Regions from separate parts of the Homo sapiens genome. Here regions 2 and 3 are each linked to region 1. Evidence: promoter capture Hi-C in 16 types of primary human blood cells and fetal thymus (Javierre and others, 2016). All regions are on one chromosome and are shown on one strand. The core of a region is centred on a gene start or on the middle of the fragment in contact, and the rest is flanking DNA. Distances in the headings are between cores, read along the strand shown.

Region 1 (3,769 bases), core at 621-3,120:
TCTGTACTCAATGTTTAATGCTTTTTTGAAAATATTTACATTATAGATTGATAAGAATCAAGGACTTTAACATTCTGACTGACTAACAGCAAACTCAGTTTAAGCTAATGAGAAAAAAAGCAATGCTCACGATCTCAAATTGGTAATGGTAGGATGAAACACCCTCCATGAGTTTAAGAGAATTAGTAATGGGATAGAAATAGCAGAGATTGAAGGCATAATGATCTATTTCTCTTACATTTCTAACCATTTTGATGTGGCCACAAGAATACACCCAACCGTGAAAAAGGGGAGGCCCATGGTGCACCTTAAGCACTGGTGAGAATACAACACACTACTGCTCCTGGGTTTACACCAGGGCATTCTCCAGCTGTGTTCTTGGAAAAGCTGGATCATCTCAAGAAATATATCTTTTTTTCCAACCTCCACACACTGCTCCCAACTCAGTGACTCCACCTCTCCTCTGTCATTTTTTTTCCCCCATTATACGGAAGGAGGAGAATGTTATCTCTTCTTTTATAATAGGAGGGCATCAGTTTTCTGTGTTCCTTCTTCCTGCATGACACTTAATACAGTTTTTAAAAGGACTAGTTCAATATATTTTTTCTGCACATGAATTATATTTGTTTTATGCTCATAGGTACAAGAAGCTGTCTGCAAGCAACTGGGAAGTGAGGCTGGAGGGTGGGGGAATGAGGAAATGAGATTTTTAACTTTGGTTTAATTATTTGAAATATTTTTATCTCACTTTTAGTAAGAAAACTAGGGGAGAAAAACCTGGTAATGACGGGAAAGGGAGCTGAAATAAGTGGCGAGGGGTGCGACTTCCTGCCTCACTGCTCGGGACCTTTCCGAAGCTTTTCCCCAACCTATGTCTCTAAGCCACAAGGAGGAAGCACTGGAGGGGAATCAGAGGCGGCCAAAAGAACTTATGTCCAGGTGAACACAGGTGGCGAAGTTCTAAGAAAGAGCACCGGATTCATTTGACAGAGAAGTGTAAGGAAGAGACAGACGAGAGAGAGACAGACAGACGAGAGAGGAGAGAGAGAGAGAGAGAGAGAGAGAGAGAGAGAGAGAGAGAGAGAGAGAGAGAGAGAGAGATCCCCTGAAAGGCAGAGGGTTAAGAGAGAAGGAGCGAAGGAGCGGGGCGCGACTCTTACCCCCCAGCCAGTTGTCGGAAATGTTCTGGAGCATGGTGACGGGAATGCAGAAGAAGGTGATGAGCAGGTCACTGAGCGCCAAGGAGCAGATAAAGATGTTGGTGACGGTGCGCATGGCCTTGCTGCGGGTCACCACGTAGAACACCAGAGCATTGCCAAAGAGCGCCAGGGCGAAGATGAGCACGCCGGTGAGCACGAGGGCCAGCTTGGCGCGTCCCGGCAGCTCTGGGGTGTAGACGAGCGGTCGCAGCCGGTACAGAGCGATGAACTGCTCCCGCGTCAGGTTGTGGTCCCGCAGCAGCCGAGAGAACTGCTCCGGGGTAATGTTAAGCGCCTGCATTGCTGTGCGCTCCCGGGACGCGGGGCCACCGCCCGCTACTGGCTGGCCATCCGCATCTGCGGGGCAGCGAGGGCTTCGGGGGACCAGCCGGAGGCCGCCTCCCTTCCTCTACTCTGGAGTCAGCCGCGCGGGAGGGCTCTAGGCTGCACCCCGGGAGGTTCGGGAAAGGAGAGCAGCTCAGGGATCAAACCCACGATAAAGAGGCGGGAAGCCAAAGCACTGGGAGACTCGATCTCAGTGACCAAAAAATGTTCGCGGTTCAAATAAAGTTCTTCCCTTGCTCTTCCCTAAGGCGAGGCGCCGCCACGGTCTGGGGTGCTGGAGCGCCACGCGAGGGTCCTGGCGCCTCTGGCTCCCCGCCTTCTGGCCATGCGATGCGGACGCCGGACCCGCTTGGGGAGCGGTGGAGGGTGGGGCTGAACTCGGTGACGCCTCCCTCACACCCAGCTTCAGTGGCGCCAACGCCGCTTCCCCGCACCCTCAGGGCGAGGGAAGACTTCCCTGGCTCACCAACTTGCTGCCGCCCAGCGCCTTTCTCAGGGCATGGCCCCAGTCAGGTAATGCTTGTATGTGAAACTGGGTATTGGGGGGTTCCACAGTTTCAAGTTTCTCCTCTTGCGTAATAATGGGAGCCACAACTACCCAAGGCAAATAGGGCTTATTTTAAATTATTTTCTGTATTGAAAAATAATTAAGATAGTTAAAATATAGAACTTGGGAAATGGCAAAGATAATACAGAAAGATCCTGCGTACCCACCCTTCACCCAGTTTCTTTCATTCATTACATCTTATTTAACTACGGAACAATACAAAACCAGGAATTTGACACAGGTACAGTGTTTGCATGTTTTTATCTCAAGTGTAGATTCCCGTAACCGTCAGGATACAAACTCTTCTATCACCACAAAAATCTCCCTGGTGCTTTTTATACTCACACCTAGCCCCTCCCTCCACCATCTCTAACTCCTGGCAACCACTAATATGTTCTCTCTTAACTTTTGTCAGAACATTACGTAAGGGAAATCATACAATATGCTGCCTTTTGATATTGAATTTTCTTCGCTCAGCCTAATGCCCTTTAAATCCATCCAAGTTGTTGCATGTATTAATGGCTGTTTCTTTTTATTGCTGAGGCTGTATCACCGTTTATTTAACCATCCACCTCTTGTAGAACATTTTGGTTGATTACCATTTTGAGCTATTAAAAATAAAGCTGCTATAAAGAATCATGTACAGGTTTTTGTGTGAACATAGTTTTCCTTTCTATAGGAAATGCCAAAAGTTTTGATTATTGAATCTGTAATGTGTATATTTAATTTTTAAAGAGATTGACTACTTTTCAGAGTGGCTGTACAAGTCTCCATCTCTACCATCAATGCATGAGAAGTTACGTTTCTCCACATCCTTGCCAGCATTTGGTTTTGCTGCTTTTTTTTTTTAAGCTATTCTAATAGATCTGTAGTGATATCTCTTTAGGGCCTTAATTTACATTTACCTAATGGCAAGTAATATTGAACATCTCATGTGCTTATTTGCCGTCCTTGAATCTTCTTTGGTGAAATGTCTTTCCATGTGTTTTGTCCGTTTCTAATTGCATGGTTTAGTTTATTTGCTGTTGAAAGTTCTTTTTATATTCTACATACAAGTCCTTTGTTAGTAAACGGTTTGCAAATATGTTCTTCCAGTCTGTAGCTTGTTATTTATCTTCTTAACAGGGACTTTCACAGAACAGCTTTTAGTTTTAGTGAAGTCATATTTATCAATATTTTCTTTTATAGATAGCTTTTAGTGTTCAGTCTAACTTCACCAAAGCCTATTTCTCAAAAACTTTCTCTTAGGTATTTTTCTAAAAGTGTTATAGTTTTACATTTTATGTTTTGGGCTCTCTATTCTGTTGAATTGATCTATGTGTCTATCCTCCACATTCTTGACTACTGTAGCTATATAATAAGTTTTGAAATCAGGTAGCATGATTTCTCATACTTCATTCTTATTTTTCAAAATTATTGTAACTATTCTAGGACCTGTGCCTATTCATATACATTTTACAATCAACTTGTCTATGTCTACAAAAAACCTTGCTGGGATTTTGATAGAAATTGACATATTTACTAGGTTGAGTTTTTCAATCCATGAGAAGAATGTCTTTCCATAAATTTACATCTTTGATTTATTTCAAAGGCATTTTACAGTTTTCAGCATGTAAGTCCTGTACATATTTTTAGATTTGCACCTAAGTATTTCATTTTGGGCGGACATTTGTACACG
Region 2 (3,769 bases), core at 335-2,834, 1.3 Mb before region 1:
GTTTGGGAACTAATTAAATGCATTGTTTGACCTTTTAGTTAGTTTTGGAACTAATTTGTAATTTAGAAAAATTATAGTTTAGAGAACTCTGTTTCCAAACTTTTCAATTGTACAGATGAGACTTTTTTAAAAAATAGTTTATCCAGGCCAGGTGCGGTGGCTCATGCCTGTAATCCCAGCACTTTGGGAGGCTGAGGAGGGCGGATGACGAGGTCAGGAGATTGAGACCATCCTGGCTAACACAGTGAAACCCTGTAAAAAAAAAAAAAATACAAAAAATTAGCCGGGTGTGGTGGCGGGCACCTGTAGTCCCAGCTACTCAGGAGGCTGAGGCAGGAGAATGGCATGAACCCGGGAGCTGGAGCTTGCAGTGAGCTGAGATCGTGCCACTGCATTCCAACCTGGGTGACAGAGCGAGACTCCATCTCAAAAAAAAAAAAAAGTTTATTCAAACGTGCTCCTTCCATAACATGAGTGTCTTTTGAAAAACGGAATGGAAGAATGTTAATTTTTCTGAAGTTCTTGTTAGCACAGTACTGCAAAGAGAAAGAGCCAGTAAATCTGGCACAGCTGACTTGCATTTCCTCAGGGTACCAATCATGGCCTATGACTCCCTTTTTTTTCTAAATTTTTAAAACTGACAAATAATAATTGTACATATTTACAGGGTGCATAGTGATGTTGTGGTCTATACAATGTATAGTGATCAGATCAGGGTAATCAGCCTATCTATCATCTTAAACATTTATAATTTCTTTGTGTTTCAAACATTCAATATCCCCATTCTAGCTATTTTAAACTATTATTAACTTGTAGGATGTAGTCATCCTACAAGTGCTGTAGAACACTAGAACTTACTCTTATCTAGCTGTAATTTTGTTTCCTTTAACAAATCTCTCTGTCCTCTCTTTCCGCCTACCCTTCCCAGCCTCTAGTATTCTCTGTTGTACTTTTTACTTCTGTGGGATCAACTTTTTTAACTTCCACATATGAGTAAGAACGTGACCTTCTGACATGGAGACTGTGTGAGTGTGCAATGTCAGTCCATTTTTTGAAATCCATTTTTTTAGTAAAGCTTATTTTCCTAGGTTAAAACATAAATTAAATAGAAGTTGTAACATTCCTTCCTATACTCCCAAAAGGATTGTTTTTTGCATATATTCCACTTTGGAAGCCACTGATTTTGAGGATGTTTGCAGAAACCTTATTGATTAGGGGATGAGGCACCTGAGTTGGGAATAGTAGTGTTCCGTGCTTGTCCTCTCTTCTAGGTAAATATGGAATAGACCTAGTTAGGATGGCTGACCTGCATGCCTATGTGGAAATTTGAAGTATCATTCTTTTTTTTTTTTTTTTTTTTCTGAGACAGAGTCTTGCTCTTTCACCCAGGCTGGAGCGTGGTGGCACCATCTCAGCTCACTGCAATCATCGCCTCTCAGGTTCAAGTGATCCTTATTCCTCAGCCTCCTGTGTAGCTGGGATTACATGCATGCACCATCACACCCAGCTAATTGTTGTATTTTTTAGTGGAGACAAGGTTTCGATGGTCTTGCACTCCTGGCCTCAAGTGATTCACCCACCTTGACCTCCCAAAGTGCTGGGATTACAAGTGTGAGCCGCCATGCCCGGCGTGAGCTATCATTCTTTATAATGGACTTTGCAGAACAATCCTGTAAGGAAAATACATTCTTATTGGGAAGGAGTGCTCCAGACTCTTGAACCCCATCTATTTACCACTGCCCAAAGCACAGAATAAAAGCCATCTTAGGGGTTTCAACAAATCCTGTCATAAAAGTCCACTTAGATCACATAAAAAAAAAAAACTTTATTACTGGTTGCATAATGAGGGAGTGTCATGGTCTTGTCTAAAAGAAGCAGGAATCTCCAAGCAATCTACCAACAGCAGAGATCACATGCAGATATGTCAAAAAAAGATGTTAGCCTAGCATGTTCCAGAGAAACTTCTTAGAAGCAGACTATCTGGACAATTTAAGAAGAATTATATAGGAGTTATTTTCCTTATCGGTAAAATGGATGTAACAATAGTACTTGTCACATATAATTTTTCTGAGTATTACATGAGATAATTTAAATGAAGCTTTGGCTTAATGCTAATATGTTATTGTTATTGTTTTATTATTATATTGTTACTGTTGTTGTTAATAAGACAGCTTTTCACCACTTTTCCACGCACCTTTCCTGGGTTGGTACATGTTTAGTTTAGCATAACTAAAGGAGGCTTTAGATAATACAACTTAAGGCACAGATGAGATAGAAACTCTTATAACATATATAATAATGATAGCCAACATTATTAACCACATACTATCTGCCAGGCACATTTCTATGTGCTTTACAAGAATCATTTTATTTAATCCCTCATTAGCTCAAGAGTTAGATACTACTATTACCTGAATTAAGTTACAGAAGGAAGTTGAATAATTTAGCTAAGGTCACCCAGCTAGGAGAACTGGAGTCAAATCCAAGCAATCTAGATGGTACCAGAATATGAATCCTGAAAGCATCAAAGATCTGACTATATTTTAGATAACTCTAATTTGAGGCAAACTATAGTGGGTCCTTAATATTCCTCCATCCTTGCTATGTAACTCCTGAGACCCATTCAGCAATGGAAACCAATGGAGCTGAATGGCTGGAAAGTCACAGAATTGGAACAAGGAAAATAATCCAAAAGTGGAAGAAAAGAGTCCAAAACTGGAGGAAAAGAAACAAGAGGTAGGATCCAGGGTGCAATACTGGCTCATCTGGCTAAGAGTGGATGGCCAAAAGGGGTACCCTGACTAGGGCTGCAAAAACAGGAATTTTTTAAAAATTTTGTGCTTAAAAGATCTTGTCAATTTTCTACTTAAAAGATCTTCAGTGAACTAAGAGGAGGCATTAAACAAATATTCTGGCCAAGGGATAGAATGGCATTTGAAATAGCCTACTCTTTGTCCTGCCAATTTTATTGATAGCTCAGACAAAAGGAAATGAGAATATGCAATACAGCAGGAATGTAAAAAGATGACAAATTTGAGAGACATTTTAAAAATGTGTTGAGATGTGTTTGGTTGTACTCTGAAGAACAGCCTGGGTTTTGGGGGATCATGGTGTGGAGCTGTTATACATGGAGATGATATAGATAAGTTTGTGGCATTCGATTCATTTTCCTTCAAGTGGTTTTAGGCCAGGCAAAAAAAAAAAATTTTTTTTGAGGTAATAGCTAATAAAATGACACATTGAGGAAGAAGAGGCAGTGAAGGAAACTCAGAAGAAATGGAAAAGTAGGAGGCAAATTGTGAGAGGAATGTCAGAACCTATTTAGTGAATTTGGATTAGGTAGAAAAATACTATTTTAGTAGTTTAGTAAATAATTCAGCACAAATAAGAATGACTGAGGAAGAGTCACAGATTTTGTACTTGAAAGATTTTTGGTGAACTAAGAGGAGACAATTTGGGTCACACGGTAGGGTATAAAAGTCTTTTACAAGGAGTTTGGAAGTAAGGCTAAGAAGATAGAAGTAAAAGGTTTGCAAGAGAAATGGAGAGTGGAGAAACCACATAAGCAATTGCTGGATCTTGGGAATTTTATGTTTAGGATATTTAGAGGAAAGAGAGCAAAAGAAATATAAATACTGAAGTTGAAAGTTGGAAAGGCCTAACTAATAGAGCCAGACACCTGAGGCCACAGAAAGCAATGGCATCAAGGACCCAAGTAGAGAATAAACAGAAGAGACAATTCCCTCTTAGAAATTGAAAACAAGGAAGA
Region 3 (3,769 bases), core at 383-2,882, 1.2 Mb before region 1:
CTGTTCTGTTTTGTTGCTTGATCACTGGGAATCTATTTGCAAATGTGCAAAATGAAGTGATCCTACGGAATGACTGGGCAGCTTGGCTTCCCTCTGTGATGGGTAGATAATTTTGCTTAATATGTAAACAGTCTTTTCAACACTCTGTGCTTAAATAATCATTGTTGGTTTGCTTTCTTCTAGTATTCCATATTAAGTAATGACTTGGCTAATGAGAAGGATGCTTGTAAGTATATTAGCATCAAGTTCAAATATAGAGAGATTAAATAACCTTCCCAAGGTCAACACACTGGTCATTGACAAATATGGACCAGATCTCATCTCCAAAACCCCACACAATTATACCAGGTTAGCTCATTCTTTCTTCCTAGACATCTTATTTTCCAGGGAGTAGTGAAGGTCTACAAAACTTTCCTACTAAATAGGAAATATATTTTGTTGTCAGATGTAAGCCCAGAAAAGCAATGGCTAAACTGCTATGTATCAAAAACTTTGCAAACTTATAACAGTTTAAAATTTACTTCTAGCTATGTTTAGAGCCCTAAGGAGATAATGGCAAGTCATTTTTTCTTCTTTATACATATGTCATCATTTATGGACAGAAAATAGTTCTCAATTGTAAAAAAATAGCTCTCTATAGGATTTGCTGAGTTTTTTATGGCTAGAGTTATTAAGTAAAATAAATGACATCTGAGAGCACTCTGCTTTGTCTTTGGCTTCAAATAATGTATTTTACTATATTTTTTCATTCTTCGCTGCCATAAGTGGCAGAAAGAAAACCGCTTTTCAAATGGCTAGTGCCTAAAAAGCAAATACTTTGTGGATCTTGGGGCCAGTGTAAACTCAGAATGCAAGATATCTTCCTCAGCTTCAGTACTTGCACAATGCCTGTCTTTATTAAACATGAGTGATTTGCAAATATGATGTTTCTGAGACAGCTAATATCATGGGCCAAAATGAATGGAATCAAAACCTGAGACACATTTCTGTTAATGGGGCTCTATTTGAGAAATGTGCATTATTTTATCAGCTTCCTTATTTTAACCATTCTACCCTGTCAATACTAATACCAAGTGTTCATTTTCTTTATTAGTTTAAATGGGAGAAAACAATGCAGAAAGCTTAATAACTGTTCTATTTTTAAAGCCTTTATAGAAAACATAATATAAAAAGTGATATGAACTAGGCACAAGACAAAACTGACTTTAATATGTTATATGTTAATCTGTTAAAATACAGTACATTTTACTGCAGAATGTTAGCAGGGTATATTTGTAGATAATAGATCATTGACATTTTTATCCTATATCCTTTTTACCTTTTATTCCTTTTAAACATTGATTACCTTTGTTATAAAAAGCAACAACAATAGTTTGTAAAAGATTAAGATATTTAAATATTTAAAAATTTTTCATAACTATATTAGTAAACAGTAGTACATAAGTCTTGATAGGTACAAATGATGTCTCAAAAGACAGATGAGGTGGAAAATTACCACTCTAGCTCATGGCATGACCCCAGCCGTGCAGAGGAAAGATTTCTTCTCCTCCCCTATTCACCTCCGGGTCCCAGCTATCACTAAATATATCGGGGGTCGCGTTGCTGATCAGCAGCCTTAAGCCTGAACATGGTGGGTCCTTTGCATTAGTTCTCAATTCCCACCACCCTCCTCCCTTCCTGTGTCACGAGGCTCACTCATTTCCTCAGTGCCCTTCCCAGTTACTGTCAAATCATATAAACTCATTTCTCTGCCTCCAGCCTTTTATTTCATCAACATATCTCCTATTATATCACCAGATTAATCTTCTACAAATATTTCTTTTACCATTTCTCACTTCTGTTAAAGAATCCTGAAAAGCATCTATCTCTTGTTTTCTGTTGTTCCAAATCTAAACTCCTTTTGTCCTCTCTAGTTATCCTATAATTGGTTACAAACCATTTCTCTGAGCTCATATTCTACTACTCACCATGTCACAATTCTAGTCAAGCAACTCTTCTCTCCTTCTCCCACATAATCAGGCACAGTTCCACATCCCAACCCTTATTTTTTCTGTTCTGCTATCATGTAATATCTTCCTGTTTCTTTTCAATCTGTTGAAATACTAAGGACCCTTCAGTCTGCTCTAATTACCATTATTGTTCATGAAGCTTGATTGACAAGTCCAACCTGCAGAGAGGTCTCGCTTACTGATTCTCACTTGTTCATGTAATATGATCATTTAAAAAATTCTGTTTAAAGCACGAACTGACTACAACCACTTTGACATACTAGACAAGTGGCATTATTACATTAGGAGAGATGATTCTTGTTTTTTTAGGAAAATAAGGATTCTTTGGGAGATGAATTACAAGAGTGCCAAATTGATCTTCAAAATTAAAGGGTAGAAAATGAGATTATCTGATGTCCTGGATAAGAGAGAGTAGAAAACTTGTAGGAACTGGAGAAGAAGAGGTGACAGAGAGTTTGAGAAAATGTAGCTAATTCAATAGCTTTAGGGAAGAGTGGACAATGAGAAGTTACTCATGCTTAGGACTAACTAAAGAGTATAAACATTTAGTTTTAAATTGAAGGCTGTCCTATGTTGTAAACCCACCTTCTACTATCTTAAATCCTCAGTGAAATTCTGTTACACACAGCTACGCTGTGTCTTTGGTATTCTGGAGAAGCGAAGGACTCAGTTGTGGCCAATGGGAGCACAGGTATGCCAACCACAGGCAGTGGCTGCAGAGGTGAGATGCTGAGTGTGAATAGTGAAAGAGCAGAATCAGAAAATGTAGCAAGAGGAAACTAGGAGAAATGCCTCACTAATAATTCTCAGGTATTGGAGTGGTTATTGGTTTTTTTATAGTACATGAGACCGAAGCAATGCTATAATATTATATTTAAATAGTAAAGGAAAGGGGGTTCCAAAAAGTTGGGAATGCTCAAGTAGCTGTCTATGGAAGTCACACAATTTTGAAACAACCTCAATTTATTTCTTAAGTCTGAGATATTTTCATATTGGTAAATGTTATCTATACCACAAGATTATAATCTAATTAAAGGAGCAAATAAATCTTATAACCTTTTAAATCTTCACAATTGCTACCCTGGGGTCGGTTGCTCAATAAGTACTTTTGGATTGCAGCAAATTAAGTTGAGTTAAGAGACTCGTTTTTCATAATAACAAGAATGGCTATAAATAGTATTGCCAATATAAAAATGTTATGTGTGGAGTCAACCATTTTACAGTATGGATACTAATTTTGTAAGACTTTCAGAACATTTATGTTAGAAAACAAATGAAACTGTACTATCAAAATTGTTATAAAATAAACTGATCAGAAAATATTTTCCCCCTACTGAATATAGAATAATCACAAGGCTTTGCCTTTATGGCTGTTAGAATTATGGTTCATAGAGTTTGAACACATTGATGACATTCTTCTAATGTTCTCATTCTCCATATGATATATAACCACATAAGTTATGTAAGGAAGAGGGAAATGTTATTTCATTTAACTTGTAGTCTATGCTTGTTTTGGATATAATAAATTAAGTCATTATATTTGTAGGTAGTCATTTAAGATATTTGAAGGCTTATAATTTCTACCATTAAGCAATTAGCCTGTCATTTTTTAACTATGGCACTGGGTAGGAAGTTAATATGCATAATTTTGTATATTCAGTAGTAAGTATACATTTAACTTTTATCTAGCCCTAAAAAGTAGTCTCAATGAATATATATCTCTTCCTGAGTTCACTTTCAAACTTTTAGAAAGTGAAATC

What was found. The method cuts DNA at HindIII sites, captures the fragments that hold promoters and counts their contacts. A CHiCAGO score of 5 or more calls a contact.
Region 2: a contact is called between a fragment that was not itself captured here and the fragment with the promoter of QRFPR in region 1, in 1 of 17 cell types (M2 macrophages). The highest score is 5.0, in M2 macrophages.
Region 3: a contact is called between a fragment that was not itself captured here and the fragment with the promoter of QRFPR in region 1, in 2 of 17 cell types (fetal thymus and activated CD4 T cells). The highest score is 6.3, in fetal thymus.

What each region holds. Positions count from the first base shown.
Region 1 is chr4:121,379,148-121,382,916 of GRCh38, forward strand. It overlaps QRFPR (pyroglutamylated RFamide peptide receptor), which reads right to left and starts at 1,871. Exons shown (of 6, transcript NM_198179.3): 1 at 1,161-1,871. The coding sequence starts at 1,500. RefSeq lists an enhancer at 1,657-2,441. The HindIII fragment of the contact is 7,115 bases long and covers 856-3,769 here.
Region 2 is chr4:120,075,386-120,079,154 of GRCh38, forward strand. All of the region lies in intron 1 of MAD2L1-DT (MAD2L1 divergent transcript), which reads left to right. Among named protein-coding and RNA genes, the nearest start is that of MAD2L1-DT, 10 kb to the left of the region's middle. The HindIII fragment of the contact is 1,023 bases long and covers 1,074-2,096 here.
Region 3 is chr4:120,173,313-120,177,081 of GRCh38, forward strand. No RefSeq gene overlaps it. Among named protein-coding and RNA genes, the nearest start is that of MAD2L1-DT, 110 kb to the left of the region's middle. The HindIII fragment of the contact is 1,027 bases long and covers 1,120-2,146 here.